Regions from separate parts of the Homo sapiens genome. Here region 2 is linked to region 1. The links are contacts of gene promoters, found by promoter capture Hi-C in human tissues and cell types (Jung and others, 2019). All regions are on one chromosome and are shown on one strand. The core of a region is centred on a gene start or on the middle of the fragment in contact, and the rest is flanking DNA. Distances in the headings are between cores, read along the strand shown.

The links. The method cuts DNA at HindIII sites, captures the fragments that hold promoters and counts their contacts. A contact is called where the count stands out against the background at its distance.
Region 2: a contact is called between a fragment that was not itself captured here and the fragment with the promoter of SNCA in region 1, in 4 of the 25 tissues and cell types used here (H1 embryonic stem cells, aorta, heart right ventricle and 1 more).

The regions. Positions count from the first base shown.
Region 1 is chr4:89,832,474-89,838,911 of GRCh38, reverse strand. SNCA (synuclein alpha) reads left to right here and starts at 1,751. Exons shown (of 6, transcript NM_000345.4): 1 at 1,751-1,950; 2 at 3,220-3,365. The coding sequence starts at 3,245. SNCA-AS1 (SNCA antisense RNA 1) reads right to left here and starts at 2,511. Exons shown (of 4, transcript NR_045481.1): 1 at 2,178-2,511; 2 at 506-651. The HindIII fragment of the contact is 14,325 bases long and covers 1-6,438 here.
Region 2 is chr4:89,672,300-89,678,321 of GRCh38, reverse strand. No RefSeq gene overlaps it. Among named protein-coding and RNA genes, the nearest start is that of SNCA-AS1, 160 kb to the left of the region's middle. The HindIII fragment of the contact is 6,049 bases long and covers 681-6,022 here.

The DNA.
Region 1 (6,438 bases), core at 502-3,001:
TCTACTTTTGCATATGTTTGAATATTTCCCATAACAAAAAGTTGAAAATAGAGTGATCACATGAGTTAATCTCCTAATTTACAAAAAAGAAAACTGGAAACAGAAGGAGAACAAAACTTGTTCAAGGTCTCAAAGCCAGACAGCAAACTAGCTCCCAAGTCCAACCTTCTTGCTCTGGTCCTAAGCAAACAAAAAATATTAATATGAGCTACTGCATTAAGGAAAGTCTGCTTTTCCAAAGGGCAGACCAATAGTTCAAGGAAGAGTTTAAATAATAAATATTTGTGATCTTACTTTCATGCTTTTCTATTTTCCACTGAACACATATGCATTATCTTCTATATGTCTTTTATGTATAATCATTTGCTTCCTGTTCCTTGTGGTTTTAAAGTTGTTTTGTATGTTTAAATTTGATTTTACTCAAATTTCAGAACCCAAATTAGCGCAAGAATCAGACAAAGCATAACTTTCTATAAATATAAAAACAATTAAAAAAAAAACATACAGCAAAAACGAGTTGTTGTTTCCCCCCTCCTCTTCCAGTGCTTAACTAATCTTCCGAATCCAGGCACAGAAAGCAAAGGCTTTCTGCTAGTGGGAGGAGCTTGCTTCTCCATTCTGGTGTGATCCAGGAACAGCTGTCTTCCAGCTCTGAAAGAGGTGAAAATGTGTTAAGCGATGCAAAAATTGTCTTGAAGTTCGCGTGTGTATGTCTGTGTGCATGTGCGTGTGGTGGGTGGGGGGAGAGAAAAGGGGGTGTCAATTCTGAGGGCAACGAGAATCAGAAGTCAGAAAGGTGAGTGGTGTGTAGCATCTCCCTTTCAGAAGGGGCTGAAGAAGAAATTGGATATGATGGTCCGGTAGGCTAAATCACGCTGGATTTGTCTCCCAGATAAAGGGAGGTCTGCAAAGTAAGTCCCATTTCTAGAGCGAAAAGCCTTAGGACCGCTTGTTTTAGACGGCTGGGGAATATTTATTCCTTGTTCCACTGATGGGAAAATCAGCGTCTGGCAGGCGCTGATTGGTGGAAAGGAAAATGGTGATAGTGGCGTGGAAAGAGGATTTGCTGAGCCTTCTCCTGCCTCCTCAACCTGTGACTCTTCCTTAGTAGTCTCCCTTTCACCCTCAGGACCCTTTCCGGCTCTTCCTAGATTAAGAGCAAACGAAAACCTTGAAGATATTTGAACTAAAGCGACCCCTAACGTTGTAACCTGTGACCGTGATTAAATTTCAGCGATGCGAGGGCAAAGCGCTCTCGGCGGTGCGGTGTGAGCCACCTCCCGGCGCTGCCTGTCTCCTCCAGCAGCTCCCCAAGGGATAGGCTCTGCCCTTGGTGGTCGACCCTCAGGCCCTCGGCTCTCCCAGGGCGACTCTGACGAGGGGTAGGGGGTGGTCCCCGGGAGGACCCAGAGGAAAGGCGGGGACAAGAAGGGAGGGGAAGGGGAAAGAGGAAGAGGCATCATCCCTAGCCCAACCGCTCCCGATCTCCACAAGAGTGCTCGTGACCCTAAACTTAACGTGAGGCGCAAAAGCGCCCCCACTTTCCCGCCTTGCGCGGCCAGGCAGGCGGCTGGAGTTGATGGCTCACCCCGCGCCCCCTGCCCCATCCCCATCCGAGATAGGGACGAGGAGCACGCTGCAGGGAAAGCAGCGAGCGCCGGGAGAGGGGCGGGCAGAAGCGCTGACAAATCAGCGGTGGGGGCGGAGAGCCGAGGAGAAGGAGAAGGAGGAGGACTAGGAGGAGGAGGACGGCGACGACCAGAAGGGGCCCAAGAGAGGGGGCGAGCGACCGAGCGCCGCGACGCGGAAGTGAGGTGCGTGCGGGCTGCAGCGCAGACCCCGGCCCGGCCCCTCCGAGAGCGTCCTGGGCGCTCCCTCACGCCTTGCCTTCAAGCCTTCTGCCTTTCCACCCTCGTGAGCGGAGAACTGGGAGTGGCCATTCGACGACAGGTTAGCGGGTTTGCCTCCCACTCCCCCAGCCTCGCGTCGCCGGCTCACAGCGGCCTCCTCTGGGGACAGTCCCCCCCGGGTGCCGCCTCCGCCCTTCCTGTGCGCTCCTTTTCCTTCTTCTTTCCTATTAAATATTATTTGGGAATTGTTTAAATTTTTTTTTTAAAAAAAGAGAGAGGCGGGGAGGAGTCGGAGTTGTGGAGAAGCAGAGGGACTCAGGTAAGTACCTGTGGATCTAAACGGGCGTCTTTGGAAATCCTGGAGAACGCCGGATGGGAGACGAATGGTCGTGGGCACCGGGAGGGGGTGGTGCTGCCATGAGGACCCGCTGGGCCAGGTCTCTGGGAGGTGAGTACTTGTCCCTTTGGGGAGCCTAAGGAAAGAGACTTGACCTGGCTTTCGTCCTGCTTCTGATATTCCCTTCTCCACAAGGGCTGAGAGATTAGGCTGCTTCTCCGGGATCCGCTTTTCCCCGGGAAACGCGAGGATGCTCCATGGAGCGTGAGCATCCAACTTTTCTCTCACATAAAATCTGTCTGCCCGCTCTCTTGGTTTTTCTCTGTAAAGTAAGCAAGCTGCGTTTGGCAAATAATGAAATGGAAGTGCAAGGAGGCCAAGTCAACAGGTGGTAACGGGTTAACAAGTGCTGGCGCGGGGTCCGCTAGGGTGGAGGCTGAGAACGCCCCCTCGGGTGGCTGGCGCGGGGTTGGAGACGGCCCGCGAGTGTGAGCGGCGCCTGCTCAGGGTAGATAGCTGAGGGCGGGGGTGGATGTTGGATGGATTAGAACCATCACACTTGGGCCTGCTGTTTGCCTGAGTTTGAACCACACCCCGAGTGAGCAGTTAGTTCTGTTGCCTACGCCTTTCCACCATCAACCTGTTAGCCTTCTTCTGGGATTCATGTTAAGGATACCCCTGACCCTAAGCCTCCAGCTTCCATGCTTCTAACTCATACTGTTACCCTTTAGACCCCGGGAATTTAAAAAAGGGGTTAATCTTTTCATGCAACTCCACTTCTGAAATGCAGTAATAACAACTCAGAGGATTCATCCTAATCCGTGGTTAGGTGGCTAGACTTTTACTAGCCAAGATGGATGGGAGATGCTAAATTTTTAATGCCAGAGCTAAAAATGTCTGCTTTGTCCAATGGTTAAATGAGTGTACACTTAAAAGAGTCTCACACTTTGGAGGGTTTCTCATGATTTTTCAGTGTTTTTTGTTTATTTTTCCCCGAAAGTTCTCATTCAAAGTGTATTTTATGTTTTCCAGTGTGGTGTAAAGGAATTCATTAGCCATGGATGTATTCATGAAAGGACTTTCAAAGGCCAAGGAGGGAGTTGTGGCTGCTGCTGAGAAAACCAAACAGGGTGTGGCAGAAGCAGCAGGAAAGACAAAAGAGGGTGTTCTCTATGTAGGTAGGTAAACCCCAAATGTCAGTTTGGTGCTTGTTCATGAGTGATGGGTTAGGATAATCAATACTCTAAATGCTGGTAGTTCTCTCTCTTGATTCATTTTTGCATCATTGCTTGTCAAAAAGGTGGACTGAGTCAGAGGTATGTGTAGGTAGGTGAATGTGAACGTGTGTATTTGAGCTAATAGTAAAAAATGCGACTGTTTGCTTTTCCAGATTTTTAATTTTGCCCTAATATTTATGACTTTTTAAAAATGAATGTTTCTGTACCTACATAATTCTATTTCAGAGAACAGTTTTAAAAACTCATAGTCTTTTAAAAAATAATCAAGAATATTCTTAAGAATCAAAATCATTGATGGATCTGTGATTTCTTTTACCATCATGAAAAATGTTTGTCAATTTTAATCCATTCTGATTTTTAAAATATGACTTTGATATGCCCCTGTGATGTGTATAAAGAGACCTATTTGTGGCCCTAAAATGGAAAGAACAGATTAGTCTTTGATAGAGTTACTTCATGTGATCATTTGGTCTCTGTGAACACTGAGGACAGAGAAAAGTGCTTGAGGGCTGCTACTAATCTCTCAGAAACATTTGTATAGTTCATCCATCAAATGACACACATACTAAAAGAATAAAGAAATTGATGCTTATTACCTACTTGTTCCTAAAGTTCCACCTTGGGGTATACACCCAAACTCTGACTCTCTTTTCTGTAACTTGAACTGTATTCAATTGAGTGTTATTTTACAAACCACTTTGAATTCCTTGGAAAAGAATAGACACACACTCTCATCCACAGGCATAGACACACACACTCAACACAGACACATTGCCCATTCTTCCTCTCTTCTTTCTCCTCTGAGCTTTTTCACATTCTCTGGTGGCAACTATAGCAGTAAGAGTCACAGGATGAACAGTCAGGTGGAGGATGACCACATTGAGTTGCCTAGCTGAAACATGTGCTCCGTCTATGTCTGCAAAGTGAAAGAAAGCTACACTATCTCTTCAACATAGATCAGTGGGGGAAATTTTATACTTGGGATGATTTATATGAATGCATCTCATCAAAGTTCACAACACATTTTTTTTTCAGTTTTTTATTTTCAGTTTTTAGAGTCAGGGCCTTGCTCTGTCGCCCAGGCTGGACTGCAGTGATGCTATCATAGCTCACTGCATCCTTGAATTCCTGGGCTCAAGTCATGCCCCCACCTCAGCCTCCTGAGTAGCCAGGATTATAGGCATGTGCCACTGCCTCATTATTTAGACTTTTCTTATGTTGACTTAATCTTCCCACAAATCTTCAATTAAATTACTTTTTTTCTACCTTAAAACATATTTTCAGAAAGTCATTGAAATAGGGTGTTACAAGAGGAAAAAATTGATGAGTTAATTTTAAATATTTTATGAAGTGTGAATTATACCTTTTTAGATGGAATTTGGAATACTGAATCAGTGACATGCAGTTTATCAATATCTTTCCGTTTGTCCTCAGATTTCCAAGTTCTGCAAGCACAAGTTTCTTTGACTTAGTTACCTTTTAACTGTTCATTGAAATCATTTTCAATGTCTCTCATGGCATTTAACACATAGCACATTCTATAAATTTTTTATTGGTTACATTCTGAGTTCTAATTGAGAGTTGAACTTACACACAGAATTTAAGATAAAAAATGACCATGTGAAGACACAATAGTATAGTCCAGGGATTGGCAAAATTTTGGGTAAGGAATCAGATAGCACGTATTTTAAGCCATGAGATCTATGTCTTGGCCAGGTGCCGTGGCTCAGGTCTTTAATCCCAGCACTTTGAGAGCCCGAGGCTGGTGGATCACTTGAGCCCAGGGGTTTGAGACCAGCCTGGGCCACATGGTGAAACCCTGTGTCTACAAACAACGCAAAAATTAGCCGGGTATGGTAGCATGCATGTGTATTGCCAGCTACCCAGGAGGCTGAGGTAGGAGGATGGCTTGAGCCATACAGCTCACTGCAGAGGTTGCAGTGAGCTGAGATCGAGCCACTGCACTCCAGCCTGGGTGGCAGAGTGATACCCTGTCTAAAAAAAAGAAAAAAAAATCTATGTCTCAATTCTGCTGTTGAAGTGTGAAGGTAGTCATAAACAATAACTAGTGTGGCTGTGTCCCAATAAAACTTCATTTATCAAAACAGGTGGTGGGCTGGAATTGTCTTGTATGTTGTAGCTTGCTGACTACTGATAGAGTGGAAAGAACATGCACTAATCACACAAACCAAAGTTTTAGTTGAGACTACATCACTTATCACCTTTAGGGTCTTGGGGAAGCGTACTTAACATCTCTGAGCATCACTTCCCTGATTAGTAAAAAATATGATTTAGAAAACTGCAACTACCTTGCAGTTTTTGTGGGAATGTCATAATAAGACAGGACATATGAATAATTGAGCACACTTTTATATATAGGAACCATGGTTATTATTATCAAATAAACTCTCCAACGGAATAATTACTTTGCCAACACGTTTTCCATTTATTCTTTTATCCTTCATTACATAACTAGTTTGAAAGATTGGAGGCGACCAAAGACCATTTTATAATTTCACTTATGGCTGAAGATGTTTGGTAGAAGCCTCATAAGAAAAGTAATCTCATTCCTTTATAAGAATATACTTTTAACAACTACTTTTTAACTCATTGAAGAACTACCTTAATGATCAGTGTTATTTTTATGGGTTTTGTTCCCTCCATTTTTGTTATCTGCGTACACCAATTTTCAATCAACATACTTCAATTTAATAGACAAAAATTTCTTCAAATGACTCAGAAATTAATTAGATCTAAATCCAAAAGCAGAAAGATTTAATTATCTTTATATAATGCTCAGTAATATAAATGCAATAAATACAAGAAAATGATGATCTTTGAGTGTCTTCCAATGCCACTCTGCTCAATAAGCAGCAGTGGCCATCAGTGAAATTGATAGCAAATTCTCAAGTCAAAATGTGCTTCACCTCACTAAGCTGACAAAGTCAACATAACATGCACAACAGGGATAACTGAGTTCTCAAAACTCTCAGGTATTACTTCTGACCTTCTT
Region 2 (6,022 bases), core at 2,456-4,955, 160 kb after region 1:
TAATTTATATTAAAAAAATATCATTTTAAAGCAATGTCTTAATCAGCTCCACAAACCTGGCCACCACAAACCCAGCCCACTCATCTTTTGATTGTTTCTTAGTCTGTCCACATACCCTATTCTTACCCAGCATTTTCTTTTTTTAGTGTAAAAATTCCTTATAAGTTATATATATATATATGTATATGTGTGTGTGTATATATATATAAACACACACACATACACACACACACACACACTTTAAGTTCTTGGTTACATGTGGAGAATGTGCAGTTTTATTACATAGGTATACACATGCCCTGGTGGTTTGCTGCACCCATCAACCCGTCACCTACATTAGGTATTTCTCCTAATGTTATCCCTCCCCTAGCCCCCCACCCCCCAACAGGCCCCAGTGTGTGATGTTCCCCTCCCTGAGTTCATGTGTTCTCATTGTTCAACTCCCACTTATGAGTGAGAACATGCAGTGTTTGGTTTTCTGATCTTGTGATAGTTTGCTGAGAATGATGGTTTCCAGCTTCATCCTTGTCCCTGTAAAGGACATGAACTCATCCTTTTTTATGGCTGCATAGTATTCCATGGTGTACATGTGCCACATTTTCTTAATCCAGTCTATCATTGGTGGACATTTGGGTTGATTCCAAGTCTTTGCTATTGTGAATAGTGCCACAATAAACATACGTGTGCATGTGTCTTTATCATAGAATGATTTATAATGCTTTGGGTATATCCCCAGTAATGGGATTGCTGGGTCAAATGGTATTTCCAGTTCTAGATCCTTGAGGAATTGCCACACTGTCTTCCATAATGGTTGAACTAATTTACACTCCCACCAATAGTGTAAAAACATTACTATTTGTCCACAACCTCTCCAGCATCTGTTGTTTCGTAACTTTTTAGTGATTGCCATTCTAACTGGTGTGAGATGGTATCTCATTGTGGTTTTGATTTGCATTTCTCTAATGACCAGTGATAATGAGCATTTTTTCATATGTCTGTTGGCTGCATAAATGCCTTCTTTTGAGAAGTGTCTGTTCATATCGTTTGCCCATTTTTTGATGGTGGTTTGTTTTTTTCTTGTACATTTATTTAAGTTGTTTGTAGATTCTGGATATTAGCCCTTTGTCAGACGGATAGATTGCAAATATTTTCTCCCATTCTTTAGGTTGTCTGTTCACTCTGATGATAGCTTCTTTTGCTGTGCAGAAGCTCTTTAGTTTAATTAGATCACATTTGTCAATTTTGGCTTTTGTTGCTATTGCTTTTGGTGTTTTAGACATGAAGTGTTTGCTCATGCTTATGTCCTGTATAGTATTGCCCAGGTTTTCTTCTAGGGTTTTTATGGTCCTAGGTCTTACGTTTAAGTCTTTGATCCATCTTAAGGTGATTTTTGTAAAAGGTGTAAGGAAGGGGTCCAGTTTCAGTTTTCTGCATATGGCTAGCCAGTTTTCCCAACACTATTTACTAAATAGGGAATCTTTTCCCCATTGCTTGTGCGTGTCAGGTTTGTCAAAGATCAGATGGTTGTAGCTGTGTGGTGTTATTTCTGAGGTCTCCGTTCTGTTCCATTGGTCTATATATCTGTCCTGCCACCAGTACCATGCTGTTTGGGTTACTGTAGCCTTGTAGTATAGTTTGAAGTCAGGTAGCATGATGACTCCAGCTTTGTTCTTCTTGCCCAGGATTGTCTTGGCTATGCAGACTCCTTTTTGGTTCCATATGAAGTTTAAAATAGTATTTTTCCAATTCTGTGAAGAAAGTCAGTGGTAGCTTGATGGGGATAGCATTGAATCTATAAATTACTTTGGGCAGTATGGCCATTTTCACCACATTGATTCTTCCTACCCATGAGCATGGAATGTTCTTCCATTTATTTGTGTCTTCTTTTATTTCATTCAGCAGTGATATGTAGTTCTCCTTGAAGAGGTCCTTCACATCCCTTGTAAGTTGGACTCCTAGGTATTTTATTCTTTTAGTAGCAATTGTGAATGGGAGTTCACTCATGATTTGGCTGTTTGTCTGTTATTGGTGTGTAGGAATGCTTGTGATTTTTGCACATTGATTTTATAACCTGAGACTTTGCTGAAGTTGCTTATCAGCTTAAGGAGGTTTTGGGCTGAGATGATGGGGTTTTCTAAATATACAATCATGTCATCTGCAAACAGAGACAATTTGACTTTCTCTCTTCCTTTCTGAATACCACTTATTGCTTTCTCTTGCCTGATTGCCCTGGCCAGAACTTCCAGTACTATGTTGAATAGGAGTGGTGAGAGAGGGCATCCCTGTCTTGTGCCAGTTTTCAAAGAGAATGCTTCTAGCTTTTGCCCATTCAGTATGATATTGGCTGTGGGTTTGTCATAAATAGCTCTATTTTGAGATATGTTCCATTGATACCTAGTTTATTGAAAGTTTTTAGCATGAAGCCCTGTTGAATTTTGTCAAAGGCCTTTTCTGCATCTATTGAGATAACCATGTGGTTTTTGTCATTGGTTCTGTTTGTATGATGGATTACATTTATTGATTTGCATATGTTGAACCAGCCTTACATCGCAGGGATGAAGCCAACTTGATCATGCTGGATATGCTTTTTGATGTGCTGCTGGATTCAGTTTGCCAGGATTTTATTGAGGACTTTCACATCGATGTTCATCAGGGATGTTGGCCTGAAATTTTCTTTTTTTGTTGTGTCTCTACCAGGTTTTGGTATCAGGATGATGCTGTCCTCATAAAATGAGTTAGGGAGGAGTCCCTTTTTTTCTATTGTTTGGAATAGTTTCAGAAGAAATAGTACCAGCTCCTCTTTGTACCTCTGGTAGAATTCGTGTTGGGATTCACTCAGGATGGTGGCAGAAATATTAAAGGGAAATATTAGGGAAAGTTATAGGGAATAGTCACAAATCTTTTGGAAGGCCGAAAGGTTACATAGCTTGTAATAACTGAACAGGGCAAAGGCAGCCTGTTCTTACCTTAGAGCATTAGGTCATAGCGTAAATATTAGGGACAATAGAGGCTTCTCCAGTTAAGTGTGTTTACCCTACCTCCATTAACTAACCTTTGAGCCAGATGGCTCTCTCGGTGGGGGAGAGGTCTAAGAGGCAAATTGCCCCCTCATGGTAGTTACTTTAGACCCCGGTACCTGAGCTTTAATCATTCCTAGAACTACTCTCTTAACCATGTTAGTTATCCGCAAGTGTGTTTACTCAAAGCTTCTGTTGTTAATTGTATACCAAATAAATGCCTGGAATGCGAACTGCTCAGGGCCGGCCACAGTGACAAACCTCTCTTGATGTGCAGGCAGTTGGACACTCAGCTGAACTGGCAAAACAAAATATCTGTGTGTCAGGGTACATTTTATTCATCCATCGTTTGGGTCAGGGTCTGCAGGCAGACCCCCGCAGCTAATGCCCCCAAGTGTGAAGAGCAATACCTCAAATTTGGCTGTGAATCCATCTGGTCCTGGACTTTTTTTGGTTGGTAGGCTATTAATTACCGCCTCAATTTCAGAACTTGTTGTTGGTCTATTCGGGGATTCAACTTCTTCTTGGCTTAGACTTGGGAGGGTGTATGTGTCCAGGAATTTATCCATTTCTTCTAGATTTTCTAGTTTATTTGCATAGAGGTGTTTATAGTATTCTCTGATGGTAGTTTGTATTTCTGTGGGATCAGTGGTGATATCCCCTATGTCATTTTTTATTGCGTCTATTTGATTCTTCTCTCTTTTCTTCTTTATTAGTCTGGCTAGCGGGTTATCTATTTTGTTGGTTTTTTTTTTGTTTTTTGTTTTCAAAAAAAAAAAAAAAAACAGTTCCTGGATTCATTGATCTTTTTTTGAACGGTTTTTCATGTCTGTATCTCCTTCAGTTCTGCTCTGATCTTAGTTATTTCATGTCTTCTGCTAGCTTTTGAATTTCTTTGCTGTTGCTTCTCTAGTTCTTTTAATTTTCATGTTAGGGTGTCAATTTTAGATCTTTCCTGCTCTCTTTTGTGGGCATTAATGTTATAAATTTCCCTCTAAACACTGTTTTAAATGTGTCCCAGAAATTCTGGTACATTGTGTCTTCATTCTCATTGGTTTTAAAGAACATCTTTATTTCTGCCTTCATTTTGTTATTTACCCAGTAGTCATTCAGGAGCAGACTGTTCAGTTTCCATGTATTTGTGTGGTTTTGAATGGGTTTCTTAATCCTGAGTTCTAATTTGATTGCACTGTGGCCTGAGAGACTGTTATGATTTCTGTTCTTTTGCATTTGCTAAAGAGTGTTTTACTTCCAATTATGTGGTCAATTTTAGAATAAGTGCTATGAGGTGCTGAGAAGAATGTATATTTTGTTGATTTCAGGTGGAGAGTTCTGCAGATGTCTGTTAGATCTGCTTGATCCAGAGCTGAGTTCAAGTCCTGAATATCCTTGTTAATTTTCATTGATCTGTCTAATATTGACAGTGGGGTGTTAAAGTCTCCCACTATTATTGTGTGGGACTCTAAGTCTCTTTGTAGGTCTCTAAGAACTTGCTTTATGAATCTTGGTGCTCCTGTATTGGGTGCATATGTATTTAGGATAGTTAGCTCTTCTTGCTGCATTGTTCCCTTTACCATTATGTAATGTCCTTCTTTGTCTCTTTTGATCTTTGTTGGTTTAAAGTCTATTTTGTCAGATATTAGGATTAGGATTGCGACTCCTGCTTTTTTTTTTTTTTTTTTTTTTTTTGCTTTCCATTTGATTGGTAAATATTCCTCTATCCCTTTATTGTGAGCCTATGTGTGTCTTTGCATGTGAGATGGGTCTCCTGAATACAGCACATTGATGGGTCTTGACTCTTTATCCAATTTGCCAGTCTGTGTCTTTTAATTGGGGCATTTAGCCCATTCAACTTAAGGTTAATATTGTTATGTGTGAATTTGATCCTGTCATTATGATGTTAGCTGGTTATTTTGCCCGTTAATTGATGCAGTTTCTTCACAGCATTGATGGTCTTTACAATTTGGTATTTTTTGCAGTGGCTGGTACTGGTTGTTCGTTTCCATGTTTACTGCTTCTTTCAGGAGCTCTTGTAAGGCAGGTCTGGTGGTGACAAAATCCCTCAGTATTTGCTTGTCTGTAAAGGATTTTATTTCTCCTTCACTTATGAAGCTTAGTTTGGCTGGATAGGAAATTCTGGGTTGAAAATTATTTTCTTTAAGAATGTTGAATATTGGCCCCCACTCTCTTCTGGCTTGTAGGGTTTCTGCAGAGAAATCTGCTGTTAGTCTGATGGGCTTCCCTTTGTGGGTAACCCGACCTTTCTCTCTGGCTGCCCTTAACATTTTTTCCTTCATTTCAACCTTGGTGAATCTGACAATTATGTGTCTTGGGGTTGTTCTTCTCGAGGAGTATCTTTGTGGTGTTCTCTGTATTTCCTGGATTTGGATGTTGGCCTGTCTTGCTAGGTTGGGGAAGTTCTCCTGGATAATATCCTGAAGAGTGTTTTCCAACTTGGTTGGAAGCATAGTCCCATATTTCTTGGAGGATTTGTTTATTCCTTTTTATTCTTTTTTCTCTAATCTTATCTTCTCTCTTTATTTCATTATGTTGATCTTCAGTCACTGATATCCTTTCTGCTGCTTGATTGATTCGGCTATTGATACTTGTGTATTCTTCACAAAGTTCTCATGCTGTGTTTTTCAGCTCCATCAGGTCATTTACATTCTTCTCTACATTGATTATTCTAGTTAGCAATTCAACTAACTTTTTTCAAGGTTCTTAGCTTCCTTGCATTGGGTTAGAACATACTCCTTTAGCTCGGAGTTGTTTGTTATTACCCACCTTCTGAAGCCTACTTCTGTCAATTTGTCAAACTCATTCTCCATCCAGTTTTGTTCCTTTGCTGGCAAGGAGTTTTGATCCTTTGGAGAAGAGGCATTCTGGTTTTTGGAATTTTCAGCCTTTTTGTGCTGCTTTTTCCCCATCTTTGTGGATTAATCTACCTTTGGTCTTTGATGTTGGTGACCTTCAGATGGGGTCTTTGAGTGGACATGCTAATCCTT